6 separate regions of the Homo sapiens genome follow, and all the other regions are linked to region 1. Evidence: promoter capture Hi-C in 16 types of primary human blood cells and fetal thymus (Javierre and others, 2016). All regions are on one chromosome and are shown on one strand. Each heading gives the region's core, a stretch centred on a gene start or on the middle of the fragment in contact. The rest is flanking DNA. Distances are from core to core; before and after follow the strand shown. Region 1 holds the start of SNX6 (sorting nexin 6). Region 2 overlaps PPP2R3C (protein phosphatase 2 regulatory subunit B''gamma). Region 3 overlaps PPP2R3C (protein phosphatase 2 regulatory subunit B''gamma). Region 4 overlaps FAM177A1 (family with sequence similarity 177 member A1). Region 5 overlaps SRP54 (signal recognition particle 54). Region 6 overlaps SRP54-AS1 (SRP54 antisense RNA 1).

Region 1 (3,374 bases), core at 424-2,923:
CAAATGTAGAAGGCTTGAAATCGTAGGCTGAGGAATTGAATCGTTATGTAATGGGGGCTTGTAAAGATTACTGAACAGGGTAGTAGCATAATCATCAATATCTGTGTTTTAGGAGGAAAACTGGCAGCAGTGTGTAAAATAGGATAAAGTGATGGAAAATAGTGGAGTCAGGAGAGTATTGCAAAGGTGTAGACGAGAGTTGATGGTAATTGCTGTGAGAACTGGAAAAATTGGACTAATTAAAGAGGTATGGGCTGGGCGCAGTGGCTCACACCTGTAATCCCAGCACTTTGGGAGGTCGAGGCGGGCGGATCATGAGGTCAGGAGATCAAGACCTTCCTGGCTAACATGGTGAAATCCTGTCCTACTAAAAATACAAAAAAATTAGCCGGGTGTGGTGGCACACACCTGTAGTCCCAGCTACTCGGGAGGCTGAGGCAGGAGAATGGCGTGAACCCTGGAGGTGGAGCTTACAGTGAGCCGAGATCGCACCACTGCACTCCAGCCTGGGCGACAGAGCGAGACTCTGTCTCAAAAAAAAAAAAAAAAGAGGTATGAAGGACAATCAATTGTAGAAGCCATAGGATTTGGTTGGATATGAGGAGTAAGGGAGATAAGGATTTATTTCTTTCTTTTTTTGAGACAGAGTCTTGCTCTGTTGCCCAGGCTGGAGTGCAGTGGTGCAATCTCGGCTCACTGCAACCTCTGCCTTCCAGGTTCAAGCGATTCTTTTGCTTCAGCCTCCCAAGTAGCTGAGATTACAGGCACGCGCCACCACGCCCGGCTAATTTTTGTATTTTTAGTAGAGACGGGGTTTCACCATGTTAGCCAGGATGGTCTCAAACTCCTGACCTCAGGTGATCCGCCCGCCTTGGCCTCCCAAAGTGCTGGAATTAGAGACGTGAGCCACAGCGCCCGGCCCCTAGAGTACGGATTTCAATGGGTTAAGGGTTTCTGGTCTGAACATCTGAAGATGCCTTTCCTTAACTGAATGCAAGCTCAGGAACGTGTAGATTCTAGGATTAAGTATGATTTTCTCCCGTTATTTGAAATGCCTGTGGATCCCGTGTGATGCTAACCACCTGGACAGTTAGAGTAGGTGTGGGGAAATTTCTTCTAACAAAGGAAAGGAATATTTTTGTAATGAAAACAGCTCATTTTTATAGTTCGCAACCATTAGTGCCCCAAACTCTGAGGTAGTTATTACCTCGCCAGCGGTAAAAGCTTGATTATAGTCCCTGATTACCGACTGTGTGAAGGTCCTTGTTTCCAGCAACTTCCATAGGCAAAATGATATTAATTGTGATTAATTATCGTGTGGCATAATACAAAGACCAGATGATGTATTATGGCTTCCGGAGGGCGCCTGCATCGTTTTTCGCTGGAGCCCTCGGGGCAGGGGAACTGGAGAGCTCCCTGGGTGGCCTTTGGCCCTTCCCTGGTCAGAGCCCGCCAGCTGCGAGGTGCCCCCAGCCATGAGGTCTGGGTCTTCAGGCTCTCCCGACTTCGGTGCCTTGACCTTGGGCAGAAGGCCCTGTTAACCTTCCTCGCTCACGGACTCGAGCGACCAGCGCCGGGGACGGGGCGGGCCGTCCTTAGGCCCCGCCCCTTCGCCTCCGCCCCGCCCCGCCCCGCTCCTGGCCGCCGGCTCCCTCCGGCAGCAGGGAGATGCGCGCCTGCGCCGGCCCTCGCCTCGGAGCAGCCATGATGGTGGGTGTTCTCCGCGGCGCCGAGTCCCGGGAGCGCGGTGGGGGCAGCGGGCGCGGGGCGGGCGCGGGGACCGCGCCAGCCTGTCACTAATGTCTCCCTTTGTGTCTCCCCCATCTCATCCTTTTCCCCGGCGCGCCGTGCCCGCCGACCCCACAGGAAGGCCTGGACGACGGCCCGGACTTCCTCTCAGAAGAGGACCGCGGAGTAAGTTCTGCCTTCCTTTCGCTCGCGGGACCCTGGACCCTCCTTCCCCATCCTGGGTCCCCGGGTGTGGTACGGGGATGGGTCCCCAGCCGCGCGGCACTCCCTCCCCGTAGTCCTCCTTTCGGTTTCCTCGCTGCACCGCGCCCCACCCTCCCGCAGCCCTTCCTCCCTAGGGGCCGCTCGGCTCCGATTCCCGGGGACCCGCGGCCGCTTTCTTGTCCCCCGCCGCTGTTCGGGCCTTCTGGTGGACCTCCACTCCCACGCGGGGCGGGGTGCAGGTGGCGAAGTGGAAATGGAGGCGGGAGATGGAACGCCCCCACCCTCCCTCGACACTTTGGGGCCATGAAAACCCATTCTCGGACCTTCCCAGCGGCACCCTCAATTTTCACCCGGTGTGGACATCTCGAACTTGCTCCCGCCCACCCTTCTGTCTCTCTCAAATAGTACAGGTGTAGTCTACATTACCATTTTGCAAGGATTTTTATAGTAGCCGAATCAACTCCTGTCCAGTGCCCTACTAGATTATGCAAAGTGCAGGTAGCCCATGGTATCTTTACTTTTTCTAATATCCAACAAATCCTGTCTTTGGCAGGATTTCCTTGGTGTTTTATTCCCCCTTAGCTTCTTTGAGGTATATTGACAAATACTGTTGATAATTGTATATACTTAAGGTATACATTATATTTTAATACACGAATACATTGTGAAATGAGTACCAAAATCAACCTGACATATCCATCACCTCACCTAGTTACCATTTTTTTTTGTGTGAGAACATTTGAGATCTAAGCAAATTTCAAGTATGTACCCTTTGACCAACATCGACGCTCCACCCACTCACCCCCCACATACACACTCCGCCAGGCCTTTGATAACCTCCATTCTGCCCTTGGTGTTCTGAGGTTAGTTGCATTCTACTTCAGAAAGAGCCTTCCGGGCTCTGATTCCTCCCTCCCACCCCACTCTCCACCCCCTTTTTCCTTGGCTGAAGGGTGGTAATCTTTATAGTCCCTTGTACAAGTGAGCACTTGGAAAATGTTGATATATGATAATTACCATTCAGCAAGGTTCCATGGTTCCTTCACATTTCACAGCCTGCACTTCAGTTTTCCCTTTTGCTTTTTCTTATCCGTTTTAATGTGAGAGAGACATCTGTTAGTGCATATTTGGTAGGTGATAAAATATTGTGGGATGTTATTGCTGTTTGTAATAACAGATGAGGTAGTTAGTATGAACTGATGACTTTTATAAAACTTTTATTTATTTATTTGGTTTTATGAGACAGTATCTCCCTTTGTTGCCCAGGCTGGAGTGCAGTGGCATGGTTATAGCTCACTGCAGCCTTGACCTCCTGGGCTTAAGTGATCCTCCCACCTCAGCCTCCCAAGTAGCTGGGACTACTGGCACGGGCCACCATGCCTAGCTGGGTTTTTGTTTGTTGGCTTTTTGAGACGGAGTCT
Region 2 (3,374 bases), core at 285-2,784, 470 kb before region 1:
AGCTCTGAGAATTCTTGTTAGCAGTTCACTTGATTTATAAAAACAGCAATATTGATTTATAAAAACAGTCCCCTGTTACTGCTTGTCTTGCCTCTTTCCATGGATGGAAACAAAGATTGAAAGAGAGATGAGCAAAAGGGAGAGAAAAGAAACAGTGTACTTCTATAGTTGTTTTTAAAAAGGAATAATTTTCCCCTTCTCTCAATGAAAGAAAACACTTTTCTCAAAGTATTTCTTCCATCCTTGGCCCATTGCCTTTTGAAACCCAGACTTTGTGTCTTACTAATTTGAAAGGCAGTGGCTTCCAGACCAACATTTATAATCTGAGTAGAGTATACAAAGTTTTATTCACTTATTAAATCTTATTAAGCATTTAGTAGACATTTATTTGGGGGCAGGTATTATTCTAAGCTTGTAGGGCTCATGTTTTACTTTGTGACAATCTGTTTGCCCAGATTTCTTTTTTTTCTTTTTTTTGTTTTCTTGCCCAGATTTCTGTAGATGGAATCTGTTAGCTCATTCTAAATGTTATACTTTAAAACCTTTCCAGGGACACAGTACAATTTTCATTCCCTTGTAGACCTATTTTTTCTAGCAGAGTGGGAAGACAGACACTAAATTATAAGCAGATAATATCAAATAGTGACAAGTTATATGTAGAAAATAAAACAGTAAACTAGGCAGGAATATGACTGGGATTGACAGACGATTTTAGGTAGGCTGGAAGGAGCATCTTTTTGAGATAGTGATTAAGTTTTAGCCATGAAGTACGAGAAAGAAGCCAGCCTTATGAAGATGTAGTATAGAGGAAACGGCAAATACAGTGTCTCCAAGGCAAAATTAAGCCTGGACCTGTTCTAGGAACAGAAGGAAGCCAGTGTGGCTAGAACAAGGACTATAGTAACAGAAAATGAAGTTGGAGAAGTAGGCAGGGGCCACATGTAGGGCCTTTTGGGCCACAGTAAGGACTTTGGATTTATTTTGAGGCTAACGGGAAACCATCGGAAGTTTTAAGCTGAGTCTGTCAGGATATGATTTACATTTTAAAAGATCATTCTGGATGCTGTATGGAGGATGTAAGGAACTCAAAGTACGGCCAGGCACGGTGGCTCATGCCCGTAATCCCAGCAACTTTGGGAGGCCGAGGCAGGTGGATCGCTTGAGCTCGGGAGTTCAAGACCAGCCTGGCCAACATGACGAAACCCCGTCTCCACTAAAAATACAAAAATTAGCTGGGTATGGGGGTAGGCACCTGTAATCCCAGCTACTTGGAGGCTGAGGCAGGAGAATCACTTGAACCCAGGGGATGGAGGTTGCAGTGAGCCAAGATTGAGCCACTGCACTCCAGCTTGGGCGACAGAGCAAGGCTCCATCTCTAAATAGATAAATAAATCTGGAGTATAAGCAAAATATTTAGGCACCTACCATGATAGTCCAGGTGAGATGATGGGCCCATAACTAGGGTAATTGGTGGCTGTAGAGAAAGCAAGAAATAGATTAATTCAATATATATTTTGGACTCCCCTCCTTCCCAGAAAAAACACAAATTGCTGCTAGATTGGATGTTCAGGGTAAGGAGTGTGAAGGCATTGATGAAGAAAAAGAGAAGCCAAAGACAAGTCTTAAATTTTTATTTTGAGTAACTGTTGGAATAGAGGAAAAGCAGGTGAGGACCAAGGTTGGAGATGACAAGAGAGCCCCATTTTGGATACTTCAAGTTTGAGATGCCAGTTGTCCTATAAACTTGAAAGTATCTCAGATCTACCAGAAATTTGATATTTGAAATGGTTAAAGCAAAAATAACATTGTTAAAATAAGTATAAGAAACCATGGGAAGGCACAGTGGCTCACGCCTGTAATTCCAGCACTTTGGGAGGCCAAGGCAGGCAGATCACTTGAGGTCAGGAGTTCGAGACCAGCCTGGCCAACATGGCGAAACCCCCTCTCTACTAAAAATACAAAAATTAGCCAGGCGTGGTGGTACGTGCCTGTAATCCTGGCTACTCAGGCTGAGACACAAGAATCGCTTGAACCCAAGAGGTGGAGGTTTCAGTGAGCTGAGATTGCGCCACTGCACTCCAGCCTGGACTGGACTGAGACTCCGTCTCAAAAAAAAAAAAAAAAAGAGAGAGAGAAACCATGGAAGGCTTTTAAATTTATAATCCTGTAATAGGGAAAGCCTTTCTAAGTATGACAAAACCCAGAAGTCTAGAAAACAATAAATTCAGCTAAATTTTTAAAGATCTATAGGGCAAAGCCCATGTTAAAGTAAAAAGAAAACAACAAACTGGGGGAAATACCTGAAACAGTCAGAAATGGCCAATTACCCTAATATATAAAAAGCTCCCAGAAATCAAGAAGAAAGCCATTAACCCAATAAAAAACTGGACAAAGATATAGATAATGTATAAAAAGTAAAATTCAAATGCTTCTTAATCATAAGAAACAACTAACTTCACATAAGAGAAATGCCAGATAAATCTACACTAAGTTGCCATTTTTCCCCTATCAAATTAGCAAAGATCAGAAAGTTTGAATTGACACCTTTAGTGTTTGAGTAATTTTTTCACAGTGCTTCTGAGCCAAAAGAAATCCCTAAAAGTTTCACTTATTAACTAGTTAATTTTAAACAATTTAATGAGTATTCATTAAGCTTATTAGCCATTTGAATAAATAATACACTTAAGTTGAAAGAAGATATTTTTATTTCATTCTTAAGTACAGTTATTAATGGGATGTGTACAACTACTTAAACCTGGGAATTAGACTGGACACTTGCCCTCCTCATTTCCTGTTCACTAATTTTTGTGTGGTACTTTACCACAGGAACCATCAAAACCTAGCTTTGCAAAGATTTATGTCATTAAAAGGAGTATATTTGGCTGGGCATGGTGGCTCACGCCTGTAATCCCAGCACTTTGGGAGGCCAAGGCAGGCAGATCGCGAGGTCAGGAGATCGAGACCATCCTGGCTAACACGGTGAAACCTTGTCTCTACTAAAAATACAAAAAATTAGCCAGGCATGGTGGCACGCGACTGTAGTCCCAGCTACTCAAGAGGCTGAGGCAGGAGAATCGCTTGAACCCGGGAGGTGGAGGTTGCAGTAAGCTGAGATTTCGCCACTGCACTCCAGTCTGGGTGACAGAGCAAGAGTCCATCTCGAAAAAAAAGGAATATATTCATGACATTTTGGTGATTTAAAAAATTTTTTAAAAAGGAATAATAACCAGGCACAGTGGCTGACACCTGTAATTCCAACACTGGGAGGCCAAGGTGGGCAGATAGCTTGAGCTCAAGAGTTCGAGACCAGCCTGGGCAACATGGTGAATCCCCATCTCTACCAAAATACAAAAAATTAACTGGGTGTGGTGGTG
Region 3 (3,374 bases), core at 252-2,751, 450 kb before region 1:
AAATTAGCTGGGTGTGGTGGCGTGCACCTGTAGTCCCACCTACTCGGGAGGCTGAGGCAGAAGAATCGCTTGAACCCAGGAGGCGGAGGTTGCAGTAAGCCAAGATCGCACTACTGCACTCCAGCCTGGATGACAGAGTGAGACTCCATCTCAAAAACAAAACAAAACAACAAAAACAAAAACTACAGACAAAACTTTGTTTCACCAATTAGAAGGCAACAGAAAAATATATAAGAAACTAGTTAACGTGCAGTCCCTGAACACTGCATTAGATAGTTCTGCCACTAATTACCTATGTAGCTAGATTAGGCACTGAGCCTTGGTTTCTTCATCTATAAAACGAAGGATAGCTATCACATAGCTAAGGAGTTATCCAATAAAATTTTGTGGTTGTAGGTAGAGAAAAGGAAACTGCCTGTTAAATGGAAAAGAAAAAAAGTAGAACAAAAAATTAACATAAGCCCAAGTGGCAGCCCTCAATTTTATTCCTCTGTACTTCAGTGGATGCAAACAGCCCTGAATTTTGGATCACTATGTGTGATAGAAATTAAGTGGATCAAATTTCATTGTATTTTTTTTTCTCTTGCAGGATGAAATCTTTGACATGGTAAAACCAAAGGATCCTTTGAAAATCTCTCTTCAGGATTTAATCAACAGTAATCAAGGAGACACAGTAACCACCATTCTAATCGATTTGAATGGCTTCTGGACTTACGAGAACAGAGAGGCTCTTGTTGCAAATGACAGTGAAAACTCTGCAGACCTTGATGATACATGATCTCTGAAAGACTAGACTGTCTTATATTATGAGATACTTGAATGCTGCATGTAAAGCCTTTAAAGCAAAATCCTCAGAAATGGTCTAAATAAAACACTTGATATGCCTAGAGAACACAGCAAATGTTTTGGTTACTGGAATTTTGGTTGCAATAGTTTAGAAGCAATAGGACCAAATATTGCTTGTTAGGAGGTGGGGTAAGTTCTGGTTCCTTTTAGTTCAAAGATGGGAAGTGTGATTTGCTGTAGGTAGATGATGTTCAGTTTAAATCTGTATAATCTTCAGAGATGAAGTTTCCATGGAATATTTCTGACAGTCATTTAGAATGTGAATATTTGACTGACAGTGCATATATATATACACACAACATGTGTGTGTGTGTGTGTCTATATATATAAAATCTCAAAGATGACAAACTTTCCCATTCATGAGTAGAGCCATTTTATTTCTGGGTTAGGATTAGGATTTTTTTTTAGGGGGGGTCAAGTGATTCTCCTGCCTCGGCCTCCTGAGTAGCTGGGATTATAGGCGCCTGCCAACACACCTGGCTAATTTTTGTATTTTAGCAGAGACAGGGTTTCACCATGTTGGCCAGGCTGGTCTCAAACTCCTGACCTCAAGTCATCTGCCCGCCTCGGCCTCCCAAAGTACTGGGATTACAGGTGTGAGGCACCACGCCCAGCCTTTTTGTTTTGCGGTTTTTTTTTTTTTTCTCTTGAGACAGTCTCCGTCTGTTGCCCAGGCTGGAGTGCAGTGGCATGATCTCTGCTCACTGCAGCCTCCACCTCCTAGCTTCAAGCGATTCTCCTGCCTCAGCCTCCTAAGCAGCTGGGACTTCAGGTGTGCACCACCATGCCTGGCTAATTTTTGTATTTTTAGTAGAGATGGGGGTCTTGCCATGTTGGCCAGGCTGGTCTCGAACTCCTGACCTCAGGTGATCCGCCTGCCTCGGCCTCCCAAAGTGCTGGGACTATAGCCACCATGATTCACAGTGATACGTGAGCCACGTGCCCAGCCTTGTTCTTTCTTTTAATTGGATGTTTTAATAAAATGTATTCAAACTAGTATTTTACTTTCATGAAAATCATTGGTATAAAAAATTTGTTGGCTGGGCACGGTGGCTTACGCCTGTAATCCCAGCACTTTGGGAGGCTGAGGTGGGCGGATCACGAGTTCAGGAGATTGAGACCATCCTGGCTAACACAGTGAAACCCCGTCTCTACTAAAAATACAAAAAATTAGCTGGGCGTGGTGGAGGGTGCCTGTAGTCCCAGCTACTCAGGAGGCTGAGGCAGGAGAATGGCGTGAACCCGGGAGGCGGAGCTTGCAGTGAGCCAAGATTGAGCCACTGCACTCCAGCCTGGCAACAGAGTGAGACTCCATCATCTCAAAAAAAAAAAAAAAAAAATTGTCTAGTTTTATTAACCAATACCAGAGTTACATTTTACAAAACTTAATTCCAAGCCCGGACAACATGGCAAAACCAAGTCTCTACAAAAAATAAATAAAAAACATTAGCTGGGCATGGTGGTGTGAGCCTGTAGTCCCAGATCCTTAGGAGGCTGACAGGGAAGGACTGCTTAAGCCCAGGAGGTCGAGGCTGGAGTGAGCCATGATTGCACTATTGCACTCCAGCCTGGGCAACACAGTAAGACCCTGTCCCAAACCAAAAAACAAACTTCATTTTGTTAAGGATTTTTGTTAAAGAATTTATGTTAATTCAGGATAAAGACTTCAGTTATACATTACATTTAGTTTTTATGAGATGCTGAAAGATTAGAAGAAGGTAAATATGAACTATGATCCAGAAGGAACTGGAATTCTGTTTTTTTTTTTTTTTTTGGAGACGAGTCTTGCTGTGTCGCCCAGGCTGGAGTACAATGGTGCAAACTCCATTCACTGCAACCTCCGCCTCCCAGGCTCAAGTGACTCTCCTGCCTCAGCCTCCCGAGCAGCTAGGATTACAAGCACCTGCTACCATGCCCGGCTAATTTTTGTATTTTTAGTAGAAATCCATCTCTACTAATTCACCATGTTGGCCAGGTTGGTCTCGGACTCCTGACCTAGTGATCCGCCCACCTTGGCCTCCCAAAGTGCTGGGACTACAGGCGTGGGCCACCGTGCCCAGCTGGAACTGGAATTCTTAAAAGGACTGAAAAGGAGATAGGAAAAAGTGAGTGAAAGAGGCTTAAAGTAAGACAAACCATTGAATACATTTATGGGAAATTTTATAGTTTGCATAAACAAAGTATAAACTTAAGGCACAGTGAATAACTATATTGATAAACATAAACTAGCCACTATTGGACAAGTAGCAAAAGTAAAATTCAAGAAACAAAACCTTCATAAGTCACTACTTCCTTTTGTTACAATCATAAAATTTTCTGGGTAAACTCTAGATACTAGTACCTCTAGGGAGACAGGATTCAGAAGATCACTTTTAGACACACCTATCTTCACTTGATAACCAAATAAATATCTGTGAGTGAGAGGTACTATCTCGAATGAAGTTAAAAACAAATTAGAAGGAAAAGGTCAGGTTAGCATGTTTTAGAACTATTGGTAAACTATAATTCATGGGACATTATATAATCAA
Region 4 (3,374 bases), core at 379-2,878, 440 kb before region 1:
GTCCACAAACACAAGAAAGGATATGGTGATTAGAAGTAGTTTTATGGTTACCTGCTATCAAAATGCTCTAACATTAAGATACCAATCATCTGTTAACATACTCCACCATGTAAAAGATTTTCTACTTACACAATAAAAAACCTATTTACTGCCACCGATGGAGATTCTGAAATACATATTGGAAAAATTATCCATGTAAAACTACTAGAAGAAAACATAAGGGAAAACTACATAACATTGGTCTGGGCAATACTTTTTTGGATTTGACCCCAAAAGCTCAGGCAACAAAACCAAAACCAGACTAATGGGATTACATCAAAATAAAAAGCTTCTGCACAGTAAAAGAAACAATCAACACAGTGAAGTGACAACCCATGGATTGGGAGAAAATACTTGCAAGCCATACATTTGATAAGGGGTTAATATCCAAAATATGTAAAGAACTTAAACAACTCAAAAGCAAAAAAACAACCTAATTAAAAACTAGGCTAAGGACCTGAACAGATACTTCTCAAGAGAAGGCATATGAATAGTCAACAGATATATGAAAAAATGTTCAACATCACTAATCATTAAGGAAAGGCAAATTAAAATCACAATGAGATATCACCACATACCTGTCAAAATGGATATTATCAAAAAGATAAAAGATAACAAATGTTGGCAAGGATGTAGAGAAAAGGGAACCCAGGTGCACTTGGTGGGAATGCAAATCAGTACAGCCATTTTGGAAAACAGGATGGAGGTTCCTCAAAAAATTAAAAACAGAATTACTATATAATCCAGCAATTCAATTTCTGAATATATATTGAAAGGAACTGGAATCAGTATATCAAAGAGATATCTGCACTCCCATGTTTATTACATCATTATTCACAATGGCCACATTATGGAACCAACCTAGGTGTCCATATCAGATGAATGGATAAAGAAAATGTGACATATATACAAAATGAAATACAATTCAGCCTTTAAAAATAGGGAATTCTGTCATTTGTGCAACGTGGATGAACCTGGAGGACATTATGCTACTGAAATAACCCAGGCACAGAAAGGCATAATGCCACGTTTTCACTTTTATGTGGAATCCAAAACTGAACTCATAGAAACAGAGAGCACAATGGTGGTTACCAGAGGCTGGGGGTTAAGGGGAAATGGGGAGATGTTGGTCAAAGAGCTCAATGTTACAGTTAGGAAGAATAAATGGTAAGTACTTGAGGCAATAAATATGTTTAATAAAAACAGAAAATTGGGCTGGGCATGGTAGCTCACACCTGTAATCCCAGAACTTCGGGAGGCCAGGGTGGGCAGATCACCTGAGGTTGGGAGTTTGAGACTAGCCTGACCAACATGGAGAAACCCCGTCCCTATAAAAATACATAATTAGCCAGGCGTGGTGGCGCATGCCTGTAATCCCAGCTACAAGGGAGGCTGAGATAGGAGAATCGCTTTAACCCAGGAGGCAGAGGTTGCGGTGAGCTGAGATTGTGCCATTGCGCTCCAGCTTGGGCAAGAGCAAAACTCCGTCTCAAAAAAAAAAGATTCAAGATTCAAAAGCCTCTATTATGTATACATTCCATTAACTATAACAATGGCATTTAAATATATACATCAAGTTGGCATCAAGATGCTCTTTTATGGCCAGGCGCGGTGGCTCACGCCTGTAATCCCAGCACTTTGGGAGGCTGAGGCGGGCAGATCACTTGAGGTCAGGAGTTTGAGACCAGCCTAGCCATCATGGTGAAACCTCGTCTCTACTAAAAATACAAAAATTAGCCAGGAGTGGTAGCGCACACCTGTAATCCCAGCTACAAGGGAGACTGAGGCAGGAGAATTGCTTGATCCCAAGGGCAGAGGTTGCAGTGAGCCGAGATTACGCCACTGCACTCCAGCCTGGGCAACAGAGTGACACTCTGTCTCAAAAAAAAAAAAAAAAAGATGCTCTTTTACTACTTTAAACAACACAAGAAAAATGGATTTGAGGCCAGGAACTCATGCTTGTAATCCCAGCACTTTGGGAGGCCAAAATAGGAGGATCATTTGAGCCGAGGAGTCCAAGACCAGCCTGGGCAACATAATGAGACCTTATCTCTACAAAAAATTTTAAAAATTAGACAGGTGTGGTGGCCTATATCTGTAGTCCCAGCTACTTAGGAGGCTGAGGTGGAAAGATCGTTTGAGCCCAGGAGGTCAAGGCTACAGTGAGCCATCATCATGCCACTTTACTACAGCCTGGGCAACAGAGGAAGACCTTGTCTCAAAAAGAAAAAAATTTAAAAAAAAGGATTAGAATTCCTACGATTTTCATATTATCAGACAATGGCTTTAATACTTTGTTTCTAGGCAGGGTGCAGTGGCTCACACCTGTAATCTCAGCACTTTGGGAGGCCAAGGTGGGTGGATTACGAGGTCAGGAGTCTGGCCAACTCCTGTTGACCAGTCTGGCCAAGATGGTGAAATCCTGTCTCTACTAAAAACACAAAAATTAGCTGGGCATGGTGGCAGGTACCTGTAATCCCAGCTACTCGGGAAGCTGAGACAGGAGAATCATTTGACCCTGGGAGGTGGAGGTTGCAGTGAGCCGAGGTCGTACCACTGCACTCCAGCCTGAGCGACAGGGTGACTGTCTCAAAAAAAAAAAAAAAAATTGCTTCTTATACCTTTTAAAACAAAGTCTACATTAATGAAAAACAAAATTAACAGCCATCTATTGCTGGTGGAAGTTGAAGGAAATGCATAGCAGGTAACACATTTTTATTTAAAGAATATTCTGCCTGAGCACCATTCTGTCTATATAAAAGGATTCAAAAAGTAATCAAATACTCAGTTGGCAACTTCCCTAAATGGCATTTAAGATGTGCTTATCTTATCAGAGAAAAATTGAAAAAAACTATTCAGGTGGAAGTCTTTGGTTAGTTCTAAGCTTTAAAAATTTTTTCTGAACAGAAATGAGAATGTTGTCTAGCAAAAAAAAAAAAAAAAAAAAGATTCAATGGAAAAATCTCCTGAGTGGCTGAATACATTATGGTTTAATATATTAAACCATAATGTATTCTATTAATATTTAAAGTTTCCCTCCAAGGCAGAGCTTGCAGTGAGCCAAGATCGCACCACCGCACTCCAGCCTGGGCGAGAGAGAGAGAGACTCCGTCTCAAAAAAAAAAAAGTTTCCCTCCAAAAATATTATAGTTATTTAAGGGAAATAAAACCACCAGCAAGTTTACTTTATGAATGTAATTCTACATTAAGCTACAGCATTAAAAAACAACAAAAAAAAATATGGTGACAGACTAATATTAACATGAGCGTACATAAAAAATTAACCAGATGAAGTCATTTGCAATTCAGGCAGCTATAAAAAATATCAGAGAAAT
Region 5 (3,374 bases), core at 482-2,981, 390 kb before region 1:
GTGACAGAGAGAGACTCTGTCTCAAAATAATATAAATAAAGAAATATAATGGAAATTATATTACTACAAAATTTTTTTAGCTTCTACTATGTTTCTGATCAAAACAGGCAAAAATCCCTGGTCTCATGGAACTGCACAAAAACTGATCTGATATAGAAGTGAATGAATCAGCCTTACTGTCCAAAAAAGTGGCACTACATTAGACAAAGATACATGCATAACTTAAACAGTATTACTCAGAAGAAGTGTGTGTGTGTGTGTGTGTGTGTGTGTGTGTGTGTTTGGGGACCGGAGTCTCACTCTGCTGCCCAGGCTGGAGTACAGTGGTACAATCTCGGCTCACTGCAAGCTCCGCCTCCTGGGTTCAAGTGATTCTCCTGCCTCAGCCTCCCGAGTAGCTGGGATAACAGGTACACCCCACGACACCCGGATATTTTTTGTATTTTAAGTAGAGGCAGGGTTTCACCATGCTGGCCAGGCTGGTCTTGAACTCCTGACCTCAAGTGATCCGCCCGCCTCAGCCTCCCAAAGTGCTAGGATGACAGGCATGAGCCATCGTGCCTGGCCAAGAATTATGTTTTGAAGAATATTTGACAACATGGAAAAACAGTTATGATATATCAGAAGAAAACTTAGTTATAGCAACTGTTATTTGCAGTAGGATCCACTGGATTCTCTGGGGAGTAAAGGTAATGTGTTTTTTTTTTCCTTATATTATCTAAATTTAATATAATGTGTTCACAAAAAGAAAATCATTGCTTTATTAATTTTTTTTCATTTACCCACACTACACAGATGTAAAGTTTTTTTTTAAATATTAATATTACCTTGAATATGAAAACAGATAAATCACAGGTCACATAAATCCTGGAAGTACTTGAAAATAACATGAAATTCAGCTGTGAATTTTCCAATACTGGCAGCACTCTTTTTTCTCAACTTCCTTTCTTTTCCGTCTGTTAACTAATAACAAGCTTATTTTTCTTACCTTTGAAAAGTCCTTTGATACCTCCCATCTTTTTTACCATCTGTGCAAACTTGGTATATTGTGTCAAAAGTTCTTGAACATCTCTTGTTGATACACCCGATCCTCTTGCTACTCTTTGGATTCTTCCTGGTTGTTTACTAAAAACTTTGGCACCATCCGTACTGTCTAGTTCTGTAGACAAGGTCAGTTACTCTCACACACAATTATCATTCACCATCAAAGCAGTTATGTGCAAATGGGCAATATATAACTTCAAAGAGCTTAGCAGATGTTTTTAAAGTGATAACTATCTCATTTTTCTTTTTATATTACAAAATATCTTACATACAGAAAAACAGACATAATACATAGTCAAACTACCACCCAGATTTAACAAATGTTAACATTCGCTATGTTTGCTTTTGAGTTTTAAAAATTAAACATGGAGGCCAGGCGTGGTGGCTCATGCCTGTAATCACAACACTTTGTGAGGCCGAGGCAGGCAGCTCATGAGGTCAGGAGTTCGACACCAGCCTGGCCAATATGGTGAAACCCTGTCTTTACTAATAATACAAAAATTAGCTGGGCATGGTGGCATGTGCCTGTAGTCCCAGCTACTCGGGAGGCTGAGGCAGAAGAATCGCTTGAACCTGGGAGGCAGAGGTTGCAGTGAGCCAAGATTGCGCCATTGCACTCCAGCCTGGGCGACAGAGCGAGACTCCATCTCAAAAAAAAAAAGAAAATACGGAATATATTCAAAAGAACATTTATAGTATTCATAAGCTATAAAAACAATGAAACAAACATGTACTTTCCCTACAGTTTAAGTAAACTATTAATAGAATGTTTCGAGACCCCATGTCCAACATTTCCATACTTCATATGTCTACCCTCTCCAGGCCCTCCAAACATCAGAGGTATATGGTATATTTAAAAAATGAACACAAATGCTCACTTTAGCTCTACCCTAAATATTAATCATAAATTCATAATGTAGACTATATAAGCAAGCAGAAAGAGGTACGTTCTATCCATAATCAACAGAAAAATTATTTCCTATAATCAAGTAATTACTACTACTAGTATTTTAATTCTCTCAGTAGCATATAGTGAATTAATTCCCGCAGTTGTTTGATCACTCTTAGAATATCAGGTGCATTTCTTCTAGCTTCAGTTGCATGCAATCTCAGGAATGGGATGGACTTTAGTCAAAATGTCCATTATGTCTGCATTCCCTCTGCAATATCCCCCAAATAAATGGTTATCTAGCCTTGGTCTTAATATCCCCAGGAGAGATGACCTGCTATCTAATGTAAGGCTGTCTATGCCATTCTGTTATACTTAGGGAAAAATCTTTTCTTTACACATATTAAATTGAAATCCATTTACGTGGCACTTCCATTCCTATTCATGTATATGTCTCCTTGCTACGCATAAAAAATAAGGCTTTCAAAATCTTTTTTTTTTTTGAGACAGAGTGTTGCTCTGTCCCTCAGGCTGGAGTGCAGTGGTGCAAGCTTCGCTCACTGCAACCACCACCTCCAGGGTTCAAGCGATTCTCCCACCTCAGGCTCCTGAGTAGCTGGAACTATAGGCACACGCCACCACAGCCAGCTAATTTTTTTTGTACTTTTAGTAAAGACAGGGTTTCACCATGTTGCCCAGGCTGGTCTCGAACTCCTGACCTCAAGTGATCCACCGACCTCAGCCTCCCAAAATGCTGGGATTACAGTTGAGAGCCACCGCACCTGGCCAGCTTTCAAATGCATAAGAGCTACCATGTCTCCTGTGAATTTTCGCTGGATGACAAATATCCACCTCTGACTCTTCTAACATGGTTTAGAACCCCATTTATCATCCTGATTTCCTACATCTTTTAATTTGTCTATACATACCCTCTAAGTATATTGTCCAGAAGTGAACTGAAATCCAGGTGAAGTCTAATTATCAATGCAATACTAACAAAGATACAATATCTCAAAATAAAGTCACGATCAAAACCTCCAAATCCATTTCATAAATGCAGCTTTTAAGCCACATCTTCCTTATAAAAGATTTATGAAACATATATATTATATTCCTTCCAACAGCTCAAATCAAATGAAAGAAGATAAACTAATAGCAGCACATCGTGGCAAGTAATACGACAGAGTTAAGCAAATAGAGGAAGGGGCGTTAATTCAAAGAAGGAAGGAAGTCAGGAAAGGTTCTATACTGGGCAAATTACTCAACTTCCCTGTATCCCAGTTTCCTAATTTGAAAAAGGCAGATAATAACTGAATATGCCATAGGAGTTGTTATGATGATAAAATGAATTAATATATTTAAAGTGCTCAGGACAGTGCCTGGCACAGAATGGATACTTTAGATATGCTGCAATTATGAATTCTACATGCAAACATTTTTG
Region 6 (3,374 bases), core at 531-3,030, 300 kb before region 1:
CATTTTGTGAAACTCAGCTGGAAAACGACAGTCAACCTGACAATTCTCATAGATAGTTAATTTAAGAAATTCTTCTTCTTCTTCTTCTTTTTTTTTTTTTTTTTTTTTGATAGAGGGTCTTACTCTATTGCCCAGGCTGGAGTGCAGCGGCACAATCATGTCTCACTGCAGCCTCAGCCTCCGGAATAGCTGGGACTGCAGGTGCACACCACGATGCCCAGCTAATTTTTTTTTTTTTTTTTTTTTTTGAGACGGAGTGTCGCTCTGTCGCCCAGAGTGGAGTACAGTGGCTCCATCTCGGTTCACTGCAAGCTCCACCCGCTGGGCTCACGCCATTCTCCTGCCTCAGCCTCCCGAGTAGCTGGGAATACAGGCGCCTGCCACTACGCCCAGCTAATTTTTGTATATTTAGTAGAGACGGGGTTTCACCGTGTTAGCCAGGATGGTCTCGATCTCCTGACCTCGTGATCCACCTGCCTCGGCCTCCCAAAGTGCTGGGATTACAGATGTGAGCCACGGCGCCCGGCCGCCCAGCTAATTTTTAAATTTTTTTTGTAGAAACAGAGTTTCACGAAGTTGCCCAGGCTGGTCTCAAACTCCTGGGCTCGAGCAGTTTGCCCACCCCAGCCTCCCAAAGTGCTAGGATTACAGGTGTGAGCCACCACACTTGGCTAATTTTCTTTTTCTTTTTCTTTCTTTTTTTTTTTTTTTTTTGAGACAGTCTCACTCTGTCACCTGGCTGGAGTTTAGTGACACGATCTTAGCTCCCTGCAACCTCTGCCTCCTGAGTTCAAGTGATTCTCCTACCTCAGCCTCCTGAGTAGCTGGAATTACAGGTACACACCACCACGCCCAGCTAATTTTTGTATTTTTAGCAGAGACAGCGTTTCGCCATGTTGGCCTCTATCTCTTGACCTTGTGATCCACCCACCGCAGCCTCCCAAAGAGCTGGGATTACAGGCGTGAGCCACCATGCCCAGCCTAATTTTTTATTTTTTGTGAAGATGGGGTCTCTGTTGCCTGGGCTGGTCTCAAACTCCAGGGCTCAAGTGATCCTCCAGTCTCAGCCTCCCAAAGTGCTGAGATTACAGGCATGAGCCCCTGTGCCCACCCAAAAAATTATTCTTAAGCTGGTGAGTACATAAATGTTTCTTTATTATTTTTTAAATCTATATATATGTTTTATGAAGTTTTTGTTATGTGTAATACATTTCATAATAAAAACAAGGTTTAAAAAAAACAAGCTTTCTGACTTGTTCTGATATTTAAGATTTTGGTAAAAAGTTTTAAGTTTTAAAGAGTGCATATGGGCTGGTCCGAGTGCAGTGGTTTATGACTAATTAATCACAACCAGTTCCAGATTTCTTTGTTCTTTCTCTACTCCCACTGCTTCACTTGGCTAGCCTTTAGTAAATAAATAAATAAATAGAGTGCCTATGGTAGTTAACCAAAAAAAGAGTGTTTTCTAAGCTTCCATTAAGTCTATCATACACTATCATTAATTCCCCTAAGACTGTGTCAAGTTACCTATTTACAAAGATCGATTGCTCAGATCCTTCAAAGTTCATGAATCCTTTAGTTTTGGATGATAAAGAGTGAAAAAACAAAAGTTAAAGAGAAGCCCACAGAACCAGAGAAAAAAAGAAGTTGCCTTCTTTCTCATCCTTCATAAACACCTGCCCACACAGGTTGATGTCCTTTTTCAAATATTTAGTCAGACCCCAAGCACTACCTTTGACCCTGGTATTACAAGTCCCACTCTGCCTTTACTACTCATATCTGAACTTTTAATATCTAATTACAATATTCAGTGAACTGATATTACATGCTACCATTTTTAAGTTTGGAATTAAACTTGGAATTATGTTGACAAATCTGGTTTGTTTTAGAACTTAATACGATTTAGAACTTTTGTTTATTATGTTTTATAAATTAAATGCCATTTTTTACCTTTTAAAATTATCTTCCTATTTTATTCATTCAGCAAATATTTATATACCTATAGTAAAAGTATATAAACCTGATATATAGTAATATATCCAGAAATGTTCAGGATAGAAATGCAGTAGTGAACAGACAAGCAAGCTTGTAGTCTTTAAATAAATTACCAACTGTAATGCTGTTTGACATTATGTTTTTAAATAATGCATAACCTATTGTTATCAGGGAGTTATACATACCTATGTATTACCATATATCTTCCAATATAGGCTTGTAATAAAGTCAGTATACTCACGTTCTCTTTTCTAAGCATGTCTTAACAGGTTAAACCACACAACCGTGATATTTGTATATTATATAATTAACATCTTAAATAACAGCTTTGAAATTTCTTTTTTTTTTTTTTTTTTTTTTTTTTTTTTTTTGAGACGGAGTCTCGCTGTCACCCAGGCTGGAGTGCAGTGGCGCGATCTGGGCTCACTGCAAGCTCCACCTCCCGGGTTCACGCCATTCTCCTGCCTCAGCCTCCCCAGTAGCTGGGACTACAGGCGCCCGCCACCACGCCCAGCTAATTTTTTGTATTTTTAGTAGAGGTGGGGTTTCACCGTGTTAGCCAGGATGGTCTCGATCTCCTGACCTCGTGATCCGCCCGCCTCGGCCTCCCAAAGTGCTGGGATTACAGGCGTGAGCCACCGCGCCCGGCCTGAAATTTCTTAGTGATAGATTGCACTGCACTAAAATTTGAGACAGGGCCAGGCATGGTAGCTCACCCCTATAATCCCAGCACTTTGGGAGGCCAAGGTGGGCGGATCACCTGAGGTCAGGAGTTTGAGACGAGCCTGGCCAACATGACAAAACCCTATCTCTACTAAAAATACAAAAATTAGCCTGGCATGGTGGCACACACCTGTAATCCCTGCTACTCAGGAGGCTGAGGCAGGAGAATCACTTGAACCAAGGGCGGAGATTGCAGTGAGCCGAGATTGCACCACTGCATTCCAGCCTGGACGACAGAGCAAGACTCTGTCTCAAAAAATAAATAAATAAAAATTGAGGCAGATACACTTCGTATCATACACATTAAAACAGGAAAGGATTAACCCTCATCACACATATACTCAAATCAAAGTTAATACCACTTGGTTTTCTTTTTATTTGTTTTAGTAAAAATTAGACAGTTTACAATTAAAGAAACTATCTTTGAGAACCTGATCTTTCAGTCTATGGATATTTAATGAAAATAATGAAATTAGTTATCACCTTTGAAGAGGGGAGGATTCAGGGAAGAAAAACCAGTACCATCCATCTGTAATAGATTGCTTAATTGAAGATATTTAGCAAAAGCACACTGAAGACTAATAGAATTGCCCAAAGGTTTTTCTCCTCTTTGATCTACATATTGTGTCTCACATGACACAAGTGTGACACACCAC

The links. Contacts are between HindIII fragments. The CHiCAGO score rates a contact against its expected background, and 5 or more counts as called.
Region 2: a fragment that was not itself captured here is called in contact with the fragment with the promoter of SNX6 in region 1 in 2 of 17 cell types (neutrophils and total CD8 T cells); the score reaches 10.4 in neutrophils.
Region 3: a contact is called between a fragment that was not itself captured here and the fragment with the promoter of SNX6 in region 1, in 1 of 17 cell types (neutrophils). The highest score is 6.5, in neutrophils.
Region 4: a fragment that was not itself captured here is called in contact with the fragment with the promoter of SNX6 in region 1 in 5 of 17 cell types (neutrophils, total CD4 T cells, naive CD8 T cells and 2 more); the score reaches 8.4 in neutrophils.
Region 5: a contact is called between a fragment that was not itself captured here and the fragment with the promoter of SNX6 in region 1, in 1 of 17 cell types (neutrophils). The highest score is 5.8, in neutrophils.
Region 6: a fragment that was not itself captured here is called in contact with the fragment with the promoter of SNX6 in region 1 in 4 of 17 cell types (naive CD4 T cells, non-activated CD4 T cells, total CD8 T cells and 1 more); the score reaches 8.1 in naive CD4 T cells.

The regions. Positions count from the first base shown.
Region 1 is chr14:34,628,447-34,631,820 of GRCh38, reverse strand. SNX6 (sorting nexin 6) reads left to right here and starts at 1,673. Exons shown (of 14, transcript NM_152233.4): 1 at 1,673-1,710; 2 at 1,867-1,914. The coding sequence starts at 1,705. RefSeq lists an enhancer at 1,350-1,399 and a silencer at 1,570-1,919. The HindIII fragment of the contact is 3,459 bases long and covers 1,227-3,374 here.
Region 2 is chr14:35,100,781-35,104,154 of GRCh38, reverse strand. The region is part of intron 6 of PPP2R3C (protein phosphatase 2 regulatory subunit B''gamma); the gene reads left to right. It overlaps LOC101927178 (a long non-coding RNA gene), which reads right to left. Exons shown (of 5, transcript NR_110415.1): 3 at 1,426-1,474. Among named protein-coding and RNA genes, the nearest start is that of PRORP-PSMA6, 19 kb to the left of the region's middle. RefSeq lists a silencer at 1,259-1,426. The HindIII fragment of the contact is 2,242 bases long and covers 414-2,655 here.
Region 3 is chr14:35,082,994-35,086,367 of GRCh38, reverse strand. PPP2R3C (protein phosphatase 2 regulatory subunit B''gamma) reads left to right here. Exons shown (of 13, transcript NM_017917.4): 13 at 590-896. The coding sequence ends at 778. The region is part of intron 1 of LOC101927178 (a long non-coding RNA gene); the gene reads right to left. FAM177A1 (family with sequence similarity 177 member A1) reads right to left here. Exons shown (of 5, transcript NM_173607.5): 5 at 2,990-3,374. Among named protein-coding and RNA genes, the nearest start is that of PRORP-PSMA6, 37 kb to the left of the region's middle. The HindIII fragment of the contact is 4,348 bases long and covers 1-3,374 here.
Region 4 is chr14:35,064,970-35,068,343 of GRCh38, reverse strand. All of the region lies in intron 2 of FAM177A1 (family with sequence similarity 177 member A1), which reads right to left. Among named protein-coding and RNA genes, the nearest start is that of FAM177A1, 20 kb to the right of the region's middle. The HindIII fragment of the contact is 2,595 bases long and covers 331-2,925 here.
Region 5 is chr14:35,020,695-35,024,068 of GRCh38, reverse strand. SRP54 (signal recognition particle 54) reads right to left here. Exons shown (of 16, transcript NM_003136.4): 14 at 989-1,159. Among named protein-coding and RNA genes, the nearest start is that of FAM177A1, 24 kb to the left of the region's middle. The HindIII fragment of the contact is 1,510 bases long and covers 977-2,486 here.
Region 6 is chr14:34,931,479-34,934,852 of GRCh38, reverse strand. The region is part of intron 2 of SRP54-AS1 (SRP54 antisense RNA 1); the gene reads left to right. Among named protein-coding and RNA genes, the nearest start is that of SRP54-AS1, 49 kb to the left of the region's middle. The HindIII fragment of the contact is 615 bases long and covers 1,473-2,087 here.